Linked DNA regions of Homo sapiens: regions 2, 3, 4 and 5 are each linked to region 1. The links are contacts of gene promoters, found by promoter capture Hi-C in blood cells and fetal thymus (Javierre and others, 2016). All regions are on one chromosome and are shown on one strand. The core of a region is centred on a gene start or on the middle of the fragment in contact, and the rest is flanking DNA. Distances in the headings are between cores, read along the strand shown.

The links. Contacts are between HindIII fragments. The CHiCAGO score rates a contact against its expected background, and 5 or more counts as called.
Region 2: a fragment that was not itself captured here is called in contact with the fragment with the promoter of ATP6V1E1 in region 1 in 1 of 17 cell types (total CD8 T cells); the score reaches 5.3 in total CD8 T cells.
Region 3: the fragment with the promoter of MICAL3 here is called in contact with the fragment with the promoter of ATP6V1E1 in region 1 in 1 of 17 cell types (erythroblasts); the score reaches 5.3 in erythroblasts.
Region 4: a fragment that was not itself captured here is called in contact with the fragment with the promoter of ATP6V1E1 in region 1 in 1 of 17 cell types (naive CD8 T cells); the score reaches 5.9 in naive CD8 T cells.
Region 5: a fragment that was not itself captured here is called in contact with the fragment with the promoter of ATP6V1E1 in region 1 in 3 of 17 cell types (neutrophils, total CD8 T cells and total CD4 T cells); the score reaches 10.4 in neutrophils.

Annotation. Positions count from the first base shown.
Region 1 is chr22:17,627,311-17,630,010 of GRCh38, reverse strand. It overlaps ATP6V1E1 (ATPase H+ transporting V1 subunit E1), which reads left to right and starts at 1,262. Exons shown (of 9, transcript NM_001696.4): 1 at 1,262-1,408. The coding sequence starts at 1,376. It also overlaps a transcript of BCL2L13 not described here. RefSeq lists enhancers at 1,137-1,306, 1,248-1,337, 1,418-1,567. The HindIII fragment of the contact is 8,319 bases long and covers 1-2,700 here.
Region 2 is chr22:17,220,925-17,223,624 of GRCh38, reverse strand. It overlaps a transcript of ADA2 not described here. Among named protein-coding and RNA genes, the nearest start is that of ADA2, 2.8 kb to the right of the region's middle. The HindIII fragment of the contact is 1,511 bases long and covers 595-2,105 here.
Region 3 is chr22:18,023,215-18,025,914 of GRCh38, reverse strand. MICAL3 (microtubule associated monooxygenase, calponin and LIM domain containing 3) reads left to right here and starts at 1,354. Exons shown (of 32, transcript NM_015241.3): 1 at 1,354-1,634. RefSeq lists a silencer at 1,217-1,626. The HindIII fragment of the contact is 4,064 bases long and covers 60-2,700 here.
Region 4 is chr22:17,193,476-17,196,175 of GRCh38, reverse strand. The region is part of intron 4 of ADA2 (adenosine deaminase 2); the gene reads left to right. Among named protein-coding and RNA genes, the nearest start is that of ADA2, 25 kb to the left of the region's middle. RefSeq lists an enhancer at 341-856. The HindIII fragment of the contact is 7,135 bases long and covers 1-2,700 here.
Region 5 is chr22:17,129,314-17,132,013 of GRCh38, reverse strand. LINC01664 (long intergenic non-protein coding RNA 1664) reads right to left here. Exons shown (of 4, transcript NR_103793.1): 3 at 1,530-1,652; 4 at 1-399. Among named protein-coding and RNA genes, the nearest start is that of LINC01664, 9.1 kb to the right of the region's middle. The HindIII fragment of the contact is 7,377 bases long and covers 1-2,700 here.

The DNA of each region.
Region 1 (2,700 bases), core at 13-2,512:
CCGACCTCAGGTGATCTGCCCACCTCAGCCTCCCAAAGTGGTGGGATTACAGGCGTGAGACACCGCGCCTGGCCCGGGACAAAGGAAATTAATGTTCAGCCTAGTAAACTAAATTTCCTGAATTTGCTACATCCTCGTTCTTATGACACACTAAAATAGGAAGTGTGTGTGTGTGTGTGTGTGTGTGTGTGTATGAAAATAAAGTGTTAATGTACATGTAGCAAAATGTTAACAATTGTTGAATCTAGGTGAAGGGAGGTCAATGCAGTATTCTTACAAGTTACTATATCTCAAATTTCTTCAAGATAAAAAGCTAATAAAAATGGTGGGTAACCATAGCACAGTAAAAAGAAAAAAGTGGGTGTACCATTTGACCTCTTATTCTACTATTAGGAGTCAGTCTATCCTAAAGATAAAGGAATTTTCAAAAGTTTTTGCCTTTGGGATTTTGGGGAAAAAAACGGGCTTGAGGTAAATCCAAATAAAAACAAATGAGCCTGGGGGGATTTCTGTCCTAATATTCCTCTAAATGGGACCTGGGAAGGCTTTTGAAAAATATATAGGCTATCTCAGAAAAGTTCCAAATAAATTATGTAGCTGCTCCACCCTAATAAGGAAGTTGAGCATAGCTTCCCACTCCCTAGGTGTGGGCTTTGTATAGTGGCTTCCTTCCTAAGACTACAGTATGGAAAGGGGGTTAAAAAAGGTAACTTCAGAGTGGAGAAACCTACAAACCCTACACTTTATTCAGGTAATCAAGGTTGACATGAATAGTCAGAAATCATGTATCCCCCTTTTTTTTTTCTTTTGGTAGAGACGGGGTTCCTCTATGTTGTCCAGCCTGGTCTCGAACTTGAGGTCAAGCGATACACCCGCCTTGGTCTCCCAAAGTCTCCGGATTGCAGGCGTGAGCCACCACGCCCGGCCAACAATCATGTACCCCTAAGCCCATAACCCTGTGTAATTATGCGAAAAATTCCAATAAAGGCACATTCTCCAATATACCTAACCAGTACTCCTCAAAACAGCCCGACTAATTTCAGATAGAGGAACTCCTTATCTTTTCTTCCTCCTACCCAAGATCCCAGTTTAGGAAAAAAATACCGGTCAGGTCACGAGTCAGCGACGTAGAAGGACCCGAGGACGCGCCCACAGGCCGGGACAGGGCGGGACTTCCTGGGCGTCGCTCTCTTCCCATTGGCTGAGAAGGGTCATGAGGATGAACTGTGCAGTCACCTGGCAGGAACCGGAACCCGCGGTTATAAAGTAAAGGAACCCGAGATCTGCGCAGGGGTTCCCTTTGCCGATTTCTCTCACCTCACCTTTCAAACCTAAACTCGAGCCTACTGTTCACCGGCCTAGCATTGCTCTCGCCATGGCTCTCAGCGATGCTGACGTGCAAAAGCAGGTGAGGGGCTTGGTTGGGTCTTACGAAGCCGCGGCGGCAGTCCCGGGGAGTGGGCTGGAGCCCGCCTAGGGAAGGCCGCGGGCCTTGAGCCGCCCAGATGCCGCAGGAAGGTCCCTTGCTCCAAGTCACCAGATCCAAGAGGTCGGCCTGAGGACGGAGATTTGCCCCGCAGCTCATGTGACTTTTGCTCGGGTCTTGGGCACTGCCCGCTTGCCTGCGCGCTGCCTTCTTGAACGCCCTGGCTCTTTGCCTCCCACCTCAGCATTCCCTGTTTTCCAAGGGTATTCACTGTGCCTAGTCGGACAGAGATCTGTGCAAGGATTGAAAACAGCCTTGTGGCCAGGGGCAGTGGCTCACGCCTGTAATCCCAGTATTTTGGGAGGCCGAGGCGGCCGGATCACCTGAGGTCAGGAGTCCGAGACTAGCCTGGCCAAAATGGTGAAACCCCGGTCTCTACTAAAAATAGAAAATTAGCCGGACGTGGTGGCGCGCGCCTGTAATCCCAGCTACTCGGGAAGCTGAACCCGGAGGCGGAGGTTGCAGTTAGCCGAGATCGCGCCTTTGCACTCCAGCATGGGCGACAGGGCGAGACTCCCTCTGGAAAAAGAAAAAAAAAAAACAAACCAGCCTTGTCACTTTTTTTTTTTTTAACCCTGAGGGAAATGCTTAAGGCTATATGATAGGAAACAGTGCGGAGGGAAGAGACCTGCTTCCAACCAGTGTTTTGACAAGGTCGTTCACTTTATGAACTGTGTTTTTTTCTTTTTTTCTTTTTTTTTTTTTTGAGACGGAGTCTCACTCTGTCGCCCAGGCTGGAGTGCAAGGGCGCGATCTCGGCTCACTGCAACCTCCGCCCCGGGTTCAAGTGATTCTCCTGCCTCAGCCTCCCTAGAAGCTGGGATTACAGACTCGCGCCCCAAGCCCGGCTAATTTTTGTATTTTTTTTAGTAGAGGCAGGGTCTCACCATATTGGCCTGGCTGGTCTTGAACTCCTGACCTCAGGTGATCTTCCCACCTGGGCCTCCCAAAGTGCTGGGATTACAGGCATGAGCCAACGCGCCAGGCCTGTATGTACTGTTAATCTTCATTTTGGGGAAGTCCCCTCTATCATAATGGATTGTAATGATTGGTCTCCCACTAATGTGTGTGTTAACATTTGTGAGATACAGGCTGGGGCCGGGCATGGTGGCTCACGTCTGTAATACCAGCACTTTGGGAGGCTGAGGAGGGCGGATCACCTGAGGTCAGGAGTTCGAGACGAGCCTGGCCAGCATGGTGAAACCCCATCTCTA
Region 2 (2,700 bases), core at 101-2,600, 410 kb after region 1:
AATCCCAGGTACTCGGGAGGCTGAGGCAGGAGAATCACTTGAACCCGGGAGGCGGAGGTGGTGGTGAGCCGAGATCATGCCACTGCACTCCAGCCTGGGCAATAAGAGTGAAACTCCTTCTCAAAAAAAAAGAAAAATGAAAATCATTTATGCTGTGTAATTGTATAGTTGCTTTATAGTTTTAAAAATATTTTCAGCCAGGCACAGTGGCTCACGCCTGTAATGCCAGCACTTGGAAGACTGAGGCAGGTGGATCACGAGGTCAGGAGTTCAAGACCAGCCTGGCCAAGATGGTGAAACCCCGTCTCTACTAAAAATACAAAAAAAAAATTAGCCAGGCATGGTGGCAGGTGCCTGTAATCCTGGATACTCGGGAGGCTGAGGCAGAGAATTGCTTGAGACTGGGAGGCAGAGGCTGCAGACAGCCAAGATTGTGCCACTGCACTCCAGCCTAGGTGACACAGCGAGACTCTGTCTCAAAAAAAAATTTTCACATATATTATTTCATACATACACACACACAAAAAACTTACTTAGAAAAAAAAAACTTAGTAGGAGGCACATGACATTTTTTCCTTCTTGCAGATTAAAGCTTTGAGTTTTATGGATATTAGGACATTTTCTTCAAAACCACATAGCAGTTCAATGAAAGAGCTAACTTTTCTGCTTCCTAAAAATACTTTGGTGTTTCAAAACACAAGTTCCCAGTGTCTGGAAAAATCACTTATGCCTGGTAACGTCTATTCCTGGGCTCCACTTTTGCTAATTGTGTGTTCCTCCAGGGATCTGCTTCCTTGTGCCCGGTGACTCCCCCACTACTTCAAAAACCTTCCATTTTCTTGCTGCCAGGGAAAGCGGTGTGGTGGAACCCACCTGGGCCTGCAAGGCCGTGCTATGCTTGTTACTAGCTGTGTGACCTTGGGCAAGTTACCTTACTGCCAGGTGCTTCAGGGTACGCCTCTCTCAAGTGGGGATTGCAATAGTCCCTACCTTATAAGATTGCTGCAAGGATTAAATGAGTATATATACACACACACACATACACACACATATTTGTATATACTCATTTATAGGTATGTATTGCTGTAGGGATTAAATGTTATATATATATATATATATATATATATATATATATATATATATATATACACACACACATACATATATAATTCTTAATATGCCTTAGCAATTATTATTTCCATTTTCTTAACTCTGGGTCAGAGAATCTTATTTACCTCATATAACAATCATATATGCAGCACTTTAAACCACTGGTAACTCTGCTATACTCTGTTATAGGTTGTGCATAGCATATAATTCATGATATTGGTGTGAAGAAAGGGATGTTTTAATGAAAATACCTCTCAAATGTTTGTGTAGCCATAGATGATCTTTAATTCTGAAAACCTCTCCTGTCTCCAATTCTGAGGTCATAATCCACCTGTCTCTTCAGGCATCTTTCTGTTGAGGTTTAGTTTTGCAGTCACTAAAAGATGCCTTTGTCCTGTTTTTCTGCCCTGCAGATTTTCAGGTTCTGAACACAAGCCCAGTTTCTGCTTCTGATGATCATTTTCAATAGAGCATAAAAAACAGAGCCATGTTCCACGTTTTTACGGCCTCTGCACTTGGCAAAATATTCTTCCCGAATGGCCTCACGTGTGCTCCCTATCATCACGCCTTTTCAGCTAGGCAACGCTCAGAGTCACACCTGAGTGGAGGCCGACGCCCCTTTGGAGGCGACTCCAGCCATAAAAAGTCCTGCTTGGAGCTGGTTTTAGCCACAGAGGGCCAATAAATGGCCCCTTCTGAATGAGGTGCCCCTGCACCTCTGCAGAGCCTGCTGCCAGCCTCCAGGATCTAACTGGGCTCTGATTCACCGCTCCCAACCCCACATCCAGGTAAGTGTGCCCAGCTCTTGTCTCTGCTTCCACCTCAAGATCTGAGTCTCCACTCCCCAGAACCCGGCAGGTTCTGCCTGACAAGGACCTGCAGTCCTCTGCCAGCTGCCACACCCTTGCCAAGGTGTGACTTGGAGTCCTGGAGCCACCTTCGGAGATGTGAAAATTAGCTCCTACTTTTAGCTAAAGCGTTTGGAAAGAAAAGCTTGATCTTTAGCTTTGACCTGGTCTTTAAAAAAACCCTTCAAGGGGAACATCACACACCAGGGCCTGTCGGGGGGGTCGGGGCTGGGGGAGGGATAGCATTAGGAGAAATACCTAATGTAAATGATGTGTTGATGGGTGCAGCAAACCAACATGGCACAGGTATACCTATGTATCAAACCTGCACATTGTGCACATGTACCCTAGAACTTAAAGTATAAAAAAAACCCACAAAAAACCCTTCACATGATTTACTTTCAGAATTGGTGGTTTCCCTTTGTGCGGCGCTGGAATCAATCTTGTTTCTCCTTATTACTTGCGGTGCATTCTGCTTCCTCTAACTTTCAAAAAATTAGTGTTAAACTCTTTTTTTTTTTTTTGAGACAAAATCTCACTCTGTCATCCAGACTGGAGTGCAATGGTGCAATCTCAGCTCACTGCAACCTCCACCTCCAGGGTTCAAGCAATTCTCCTGCCTCAGCCTCCCAAGTAGCTGGGATTACAGGTGCGCACCACCACACCTAATTTTTGTATTTTAGTAGGGGCTGGTCTCGAACCCCTTCCATTGTGATCCACCTGCCTCGGCCTCCCAAAGTGC
Region 3 (2,700 bases), core at 105-2,604, 400 kb before region 1:
CTGTGGCATCAAACAAAACTGGGAATTGCAGCTTTACCACTTATCTCGCTGCATAAGCTTCCACAAGCAAGTTACTTACTGTTTGTGCTTTTAGGTTCTTAATATGTAAAACAATGTTTTACATTAAAAATTAAATGAAATAGCTCCTGAAAAGCCCAGTCACATTGTCAGAGCTCAGTAAAAATGTGTTCCCTTATTCTAGTACTGGGGCAGAACACCTGCAGGTTTGTAGGTGGGGAGACAGTGGACAGAGTGGCTGGGTGATGAAGTGGGGCTCTAGAGGATGAGCAGAGATTGCCTCTGAGCCGACACCCTGGCCCTGTCAGTTCCCGTCCTCACATGATGGACATGAAGGGAACACGAATGAAGCAGATGATGATACGGTTAAGTAAATACCACCTGGGACCAGAGAGAGCCCTTCTCAAGGAGTCGCCAGCCCAGAGTCGGCCCTCTTCTGAGCTGGCCGGCTGGAGTCAATCTGCTTTGGACAACACAGCTTCAGATGGAGATAATACTGAGGCCAATGATCCTTGAAGACAAAATAATCTCTGGGCTTCTTTCTGCTCTGATTATAATGTTGCAATTATACTGAGCAGATGCTGATAGGAATTTGGTCAAATCCATCCCGTCTTCCATCTAACTTATTTTAGTGCCTGGTGGATTTCTGTCCAGCTCCACGGGCTGTGGCAATGCCGGGGCTGGCTGGAAGTGTGGAAGGGGCTGGCTGGAAGTGTGGAAGAGGCTGCCCGGGCTCCGGCATCAAGAGGTTTTCTCCGGTGGGGAGGAGTGCGCGATCTGATCCTTGGAGCGCTTGCAACTGTAGCCCTCCCCCAGGGCTCTGCGCTGATCTCCAGGGTCATCATCATAGTAACAGTAAGAACTTCATTTTATAGCATTTTTCAATCTGTAAGACAACGTCGTGTCCTTTATACCGTTGAAATTTCAATTTCACGACTACTCAGATGTTACGCGACTTGCTCAGTATCCAACACTTGGTTCCTTCACTGGCTCCCGGAGACCTGGGTGCTGAAGCCACTGCAAGGAGGTGTGTGCTCGAACACACAGCGAACACCGACTGCGTGGTTAGCAGGATTCGCTGGGGAAGAGGCCTCAGGAGAGTGCTGGAATTTCCAACCTTCGAGGTGCTAGTAACGTGTGTCGAGGAAGGGGTTGGAGAAGGGGAGAAAATGAAAAGAAGGGGAGAAAATGAAAAGATGGGGAGGAGGAGAAATGGTTTGGGTTTGGTTTTGGCTTGAGCCTCACCCAAGCGTCCCACGCCGCAGCTCCGCGGCCTCCTGGGGGCGCCCGCTCGCGTTGCCACGGCGCTCGCGCGGAGCCGCAGCCCGCCCAGCCAGCAGCGCGCGCTCCTGCAGCCCCGGCGGAGTCCCGGCGGGGAGCGCCCGCGTAGGCAGGCACCCGGGGCAGCCCTCCGTCCTCGCCGCGCGGCCTGAGAACCCCTGGGCCCTGGGCGAGGGGGCTGGGCTGTGCAGCCCCCGAGGCTAACTGGGCGGGATCGCAGCTGCAGGGGTTGTGCGAGCAGCCACGGCGGCACCTGTGCCCTGCGGGCACCCACCCTGCCCCTGCCGAGGCAGGCGCCCACCGCCGGCGGTGATGCGGCTGTGAAGCCCTAGTCGGTGAGTACCCTCCAGTCCCCCTGTGGGCGAGCGAATCTAAATGACAAGGTTATGTGTTTTGCTGGATGTCTTCTAAGAATCATTTATTTAGATTGCTTATGGTGGGGAAGCGTTTCCTTTGTGACATCTTTGTGTTTCTCGGATCTATTTCGTTTCCCTCTAAACGCAGCCCTCTCTCCCCTAGTGGGAAAGACACCCAGTATCCGTGTCTCGATCATCGCACGACACCCACCAGTGCGGATGCCACGTACCACACACTCCCCAGAGCCTGCCAGAGAGCAGGGCTGTCTCCCAGCCACGTCCACCCCATTTTCATTGTGCTTCTATCCCGCAGGCAAAGGAAGAGCGTACCCAGGCACCCCCGAGGTAGGCCAGGTGTCAGGACAGCCAGCAGGCCCTTGGCGAAGCCGGGTCCGCTCTGGCTAGCTCAGCGCGGTGAACCCATGAGCTCATTAGGAGCAGCGGCTGCTTTGCGCGGGGAACGCCGGTTTCCCTGCGGCAGAGGGGCCCTGCACCCGCCCGCGGCGCGCGGTGGTGGCCCAGGACCAGTGGCGCACACGCTTGCGCTCCCAGGCTGCAGGGCGCGCTGCGCCGGCGCAGCTCCCGGGCGTGTGCAACAAAAGGACGGCCAAGTTCATTCCCTCCTGGAAGCAGAGGGCGGGGCCGCATGACTTCTGGAGGCTGCATGTGTCTTAGAATCAAATGGTTATGACTCCATAGCAAAATGCTTTCTGTGTGTCAAGTCCTCTCCGTGCCTGCCAACCCCTTCCCTCCTCTCTCCTCCCTAAAATGCTTTCTTATTGGTCTGGCACTGTGATCAACTATTTAGAATTTTCATTGTAAAGAAATGAAAAAAGGGTGAAACCGAGACAAGCTGTAGGCTGAAAGGCTGGGCCCTGTGGTGCTATTCATTAGCTCTCAGGCCTGGCTGCTGGGGAGATTTTTAGAAATCCTGCTACCTGGGTCCAATCCCTGGAGATTCTGACTTAATTGGTCTGGGATATGGCCCAAACACTGGGATTTTTTAAATTTTCTTTTTGTGGGGAGGAGTGGTGGTGGGAAAATT
Region 4 (2,700 bases), core at 201-2,700, 430 kb after region 1:
AGAGAAGGGGTTTCACCATGTTGGCCAGGCTGGTCAACTGACATCAGGTGATCCACTCGCCTTGGCCCCCCAAAGTGCTGGGATTACAGGTGTGAGCTATTGCACCCAGCCAAAATTAAGAAATTTTCTTGCCGGGCGCAGTGGCTCATGCCTGTAATCCCAGCGCTTTGGGAGGCTGAGGCGAGCAGATCATGAGGTCAGGAGTTCAAGACCAGCCTGACCAGCATGGCGAAACCCCGTCTCTACCAGAAATACAAAAAAATAGCCAGGCGTGGTGGCATGTGCCTGTAATCCCAGCTACTCGGGAGTCGTGCTTGAACCCAGGAGGTGGAGGTTAAAGTGAGCCGAGATCGCACCACTGCACTCCAGCCTGGGTGACAGAGCGAGACTCCGTCTCAAAAAAAAAAAAAAAAAGGAAAGAAATTATTCTAAATACAAACACATAATCCATGATTGGCATTATCGGTCAGAATGATATGACACATGATGCAGCTTCAGGAAAATTCTACTGTACATCCATGAGAGAATAAGAGTGAAACAGACAGTGAACCAAGATTGCACCACCACACTCCAGCCTGGACGACACGGCAAGACTGTTGCAAAATAAAAGTTTAAAAAAATTTTTTTGTTTTGTTTTGTTTTTTTTTGAGACGGAGTCTTGCTCTGTCGCCCAGGCTGGAGTGCAGTGGCGCGATCTCAGCTCACTGCAACCTCCAACTCCCGGGTTCAAGCGATTCTCCTGCCTCAGCCTCCCCAGTAGCTGGGATTACAGGCGCCCACCACCACGCCCGGCTAATTGTTGTATTTTTAGTAGAGATGAGGTTTCACCATGTTGGCCAGGATAGTCTCCAACTCCTGACCTCAGGTGATTTGCCCGAGGTGATCTGCCTCCGCCTCCCAAAGTGCTGGGATTACAGGCATGAGCCATCACACCCGGCCTAAGAATTTGCTATGTGCACAGATAGATGCAGGCCTTCCTTGAAAAGACGTGAAGCACCAAAGAAGTTAGAGTGAGGGCTTATATTCCATTTTAACAACTGGTAATAAATTGTGAAGAAGTGACAAGATGAAGGAAAAGGGGTTTGGGCTTCTAGGGACAGTAAATTGTGGGCAGGCAAACATATGGGGGAAACTAATGGAAGATAAGGGCAATTTTATAAGGCTGGTTTGTGCAGACCCATCTTGGTAACAACTTTCTGTTTCCGGTGGTAAGGGTGATTCTCCTGGTACGGGAGAGGGGAGGGCGACACCTTCACAAAGGGAAATTTAGGCAGATGAGGTGGGCAAAGAGCTCTTTCTTCATTTGCTGCTTCTTAATTGCCTTCAGCTAAAAATATTTCTTCTGCTAAAGTGGCCTATTGGGTGACATATTCTGACCCTCTTCAGTAAATAATAATAATAATAGACAATACTAGATCCTGAATGAACAGTACCTAAGGTTCTTCCTTCTGGCACGCTCTGGCAGCCTTAAAGTTCAGTAGCCCCTGAGCATGGCTGTGCCAGGTCAGGCAGTCAGGGAAACTGCCCGAGCAGAGTGAGTGGCCTGGCCAGGTGCAGGTTGTGGGGGGCTGTGTGACGTGCCAGGCTTCATGGGGGCAGCAGAGGAAACAGAAGAGCAAAGACCAGTGGAGAGCCTCACTGCCTGCTCCCCCACTGCGCCTGCCCAGGCAGCGGGGCAGCACCCTGGAGATGAGAGAGCAGCAGTACTGTTCTGCAGGCCTGGGGGAATGCGGGGATCTGAGGGACTGCCCAGAGACAAAGGACACACAATGGCCGCAGCCTGGAGGGGTGTGGGAGGCCCCTAGGCTGGGGAGACAGGAGTGAGGCAAGGGGCTGGTGGGAAATGAGCAGAGGAGGTGGACTCCCAAGGGCCCATTTCCTGAGATGCCACAGAGGCAAGAGCCGACTCCCGGGAGGAGGAAGGGCATTTCTCCCTTAGTGAGGGGACAGCTCCTGGCTCCCACTGCAGCTCTCAACCTCGGCTCCTTGAACCCCCGCCCCCAGGCAGCTCTTGACTCTGTGTGGAGCCACCATTCCCTTGGTCAGGACTAGCAACCTTCTCTGACCCATCCAGTCACAACAAACTGCTTCTTCTTTTGAGAGGTCATGTGCTTCTCTTTAGCACTTATTCTATTGTTTCTTTTTTTTTTTTTTTTCATTCCTTTTTACAGACAGGAACTCACTCATTGCCCAGGCTGGTCTTGACCTCCTGGGCTCAAGTGATCCTCCTGCCTCGGCCTCCCAAAGTGCTGGGATTACAGGCGTGAGCTCTTTTTAGTGGGTCAGGTCTATCTCTCTGACCCTATTGTCACTCCTGAGGGCAGCTATCTTGTCTATTAGCATTTTTTCATCCCTTCCAATGCCCAGCCCTGTTCCTTTTATATCATAAGGGCTTAACTGATGCCATGGAAGTAATCGACATCTCCATATTATTGCTCCCTGTCTCCTTCACCCCACAGTCTCTGCAGAAATTCCCACATCTTTTTTTTTTTTTTTTAGTTTTTTTTTAAGGTGGAGTCTCGCTCTGTCACCCAGGCTGGAGTGCAATGGCGCGATCTTGGCTCACAGCAACCTCTGCCTCCTGGGTTCAAGCGATTATCCTGCCTCAGCCTCCCGAGTGGCTGGGACTACTACAGGCACGCACCACCACACCCGGCTAATTTTTGTATTTTTAGTAGAGACGAGGTTTCACCATATTGG
Region 5 (2,700 bases), core at 116-2,615, 500 kb after region 1:
TGAGCCATTACCTTGGAATCAGAACATGGGCATTTCCTTGGTGTTCCCCTTGGCGGCAGCCGCCTGCTCTCAGCCTGAGGCAGGTGCAGGGAGCCTGCTGGTAATCGGGACACCCTGCAGAGCTGGGGTTGCTGTAGCAACCAGATGCTGCCTGGAGGGCGGAATTTTAAAATATCTCAGCTATAATAGTTTTTTTCACATTCTGTCACTTCCCCAGTGCTGCATCATACTGCTGAGGTGGGCCATGCGGGGACACAGGGGCCCTTGGGTGGCAGCTTCTGTGGGTGTTGGAAGTGGGAAGATGGTCTCAGGGTGTTAACTGCTGGGCAGCCGACAGCCTCAGCTTTCGCTTCCAGGTTCCTCCAGCTCTTGGTTCCAAAGCCTCGTGTCATTTTCTCTCTTTTTGGGGTGAGAGGGGATGGAGAGAGAGAATAGGAGTCTAGCTTGAAACTCCTTCCCTACCTCCTCCCCCTCTGATTTGAGCTTTCTGGCTCTGCATCCCTAGGCGAGCAGCCTTGGCGTTCCTGGAGCTGTCTCTTTGGAGAGGGGAGGGGTGTTCCTTCTTCCTTTCTTGTCTGCTTCTTCCTTTGGTCTTTCTTTTTTTTTTTTTTCTTGAGACGGAGTCTCGCTCTGTTGCTCAGGCTGGAGTGCAGTGGCACGATCTCGACTCACTGCAAGCTCCGCCCCCCGGGTTCACGCCATTCTCCTGCCTCAGCCTCCCCAGTAGCTGGGACTACAGGCACCCGCCACCACCCCCGGCTAATTTTATTTTTTTAATTTTTAGTAGAGACGGGGTTTCACTGTGTTAGCCAGGATGGTTTCCATCTCCTGACCTCGTGATCCGCCTGCCTCGGGCTCCCAAAGTGCTGGGATTACAGGCGGGAGCCACCGCGCCCGGCCCCTTTGGTCTTTCTAACTTCCTCTTTCGGCTTCATTTATTCACATATAAATGACTGTTGCTCTCCTACCAAATGCAGTGTTAAGAAATGAGGGCCGGGCTCGGTGGCTCACGCCTGTAATCCCAGCACTTTGGGAGGCCGAGGCAGGCGAATCACTTGAGGTTAGGAGTTTGAAACCAGCCTGGCCAACATAGTGAAACCCTATCTCTACTAAAAACAAAACAAAACAAAACAAAAATTAGCCAGGCAGGTGGCACGTGCCTGTAGTCCCAGCCACTCGGGAGGCTGAGGCAGGAGAATCACTTGAAACCGAGAGGCGGAGGTTGCAGTGAGCCGAGATTGCACCATTGCACTCCAGCCTGGATGACAGAGTGAGACTCCATCTCAAAAAAAAAAAAAAAAAAAGAAAGAAAGAAAAGAAACGAGAAATTCCCTTGTTCTAGAGGAATTCATCCTGTCTTGACCCTGGACTTGCCTATCAGATATCAAACATTTTTATGAAGTTACAGTAATTAAGACACTGTACTACTGGCAGAGGGAGAGACACAAACCAATGGCACAAAGGAGAGTACCCAGAAACAGACCTACACATGTATGAAAATGTGGCCTCACAAAATCTTTCTTTCTTACTCATTTCATAGCCTGATATGGGTCAGGTGGCTACTCTTGACCTTTTTGCTTCAAGTGGTGACTCAGGGATCCAGGCACCCTCCAGTTGGTGATGCTGTCATCTTCCACACATGGGTCCAAGGTCTGTGGGAGAGAGTGTGAATGGATAACTGTGAAGGGATTTATGGCCGAACCAGGCTGTGGTGGGTGCCACATGTGTGCATGTTTATTGGCTAGCCACATGGTTCTAATGTGACTGCAAAGAGGATGGGAAATGTGGTCTTTCTCTGTCTAGGAAGAGGAAATGGGATTGAACAGCATCTAGTCTGTCTCTGTTGCCATATTACTATTTACTAGGAATAAAGAAATTCTGGCCAGGCTTGGTGGCTTACACCTATAATCCCAGCACTCTGGGAGGCAGAAGCAGGAGGATCTCTTGAGTCCAGGAGTTTGAGACTAGCCTGGGCAACATGGGGAGACCCTCTCTCTACAAACAAACAAAAAAATAGCTGGGCGTGGTGGCACATGCTTGTAGTCACAGCTACTTGGAAGGCTGAGGCAGGAGGGTTGCTTGAGCCCAGGATTCAAACCTGCAGTGAACTATGATTGTGCCACTGCACTCTGGTCTGGACAACAGAGCAAGACCAATAGAGCAAAAAATTTTGTTTTGCTCAATTTTTGTTGAAATTCATGAATAGATATTAAATGTTTGTTTCTCTGTATTTGTTGAGTTGATCTTAAGTGTTCTTCTCCTTTAATCTGTTAATATGGTAAACCATATTAATATATTTTGTTTTTATCTTTTTTTTTTTTTTTTTTTTTGGAGACAGGGTCTCTCTCTGTCACCCAGGTTGCAGTACAGTTGTGCAGTCCTGGCTCACGGCAGCCTCGACCTCCCGGGCTTAAACAATTCTCCCGCCTCAGCCTCCCAAGTAGCTGGGACTACAGGTATGTGCCACCACACCCCAGCTAATTTTATTGTTTAATTTTTTGTAGAGGTGAGGTCTTGCCATGTTGCCTAGGCGGCTCTCAAACTCCTGGGCTTCAAGCGCTCCTCCCACCTTGGCCTCTAGAATGTTGGGATAACAGGCGTGAGTCACTATGCCCAGCCTGTTGTCATCTTTAACTCTTTCTTTCATCCCTGGGATAAAACCAAGTTGGTTATGTTACATGTTGCTGGCCGCTACTGCTG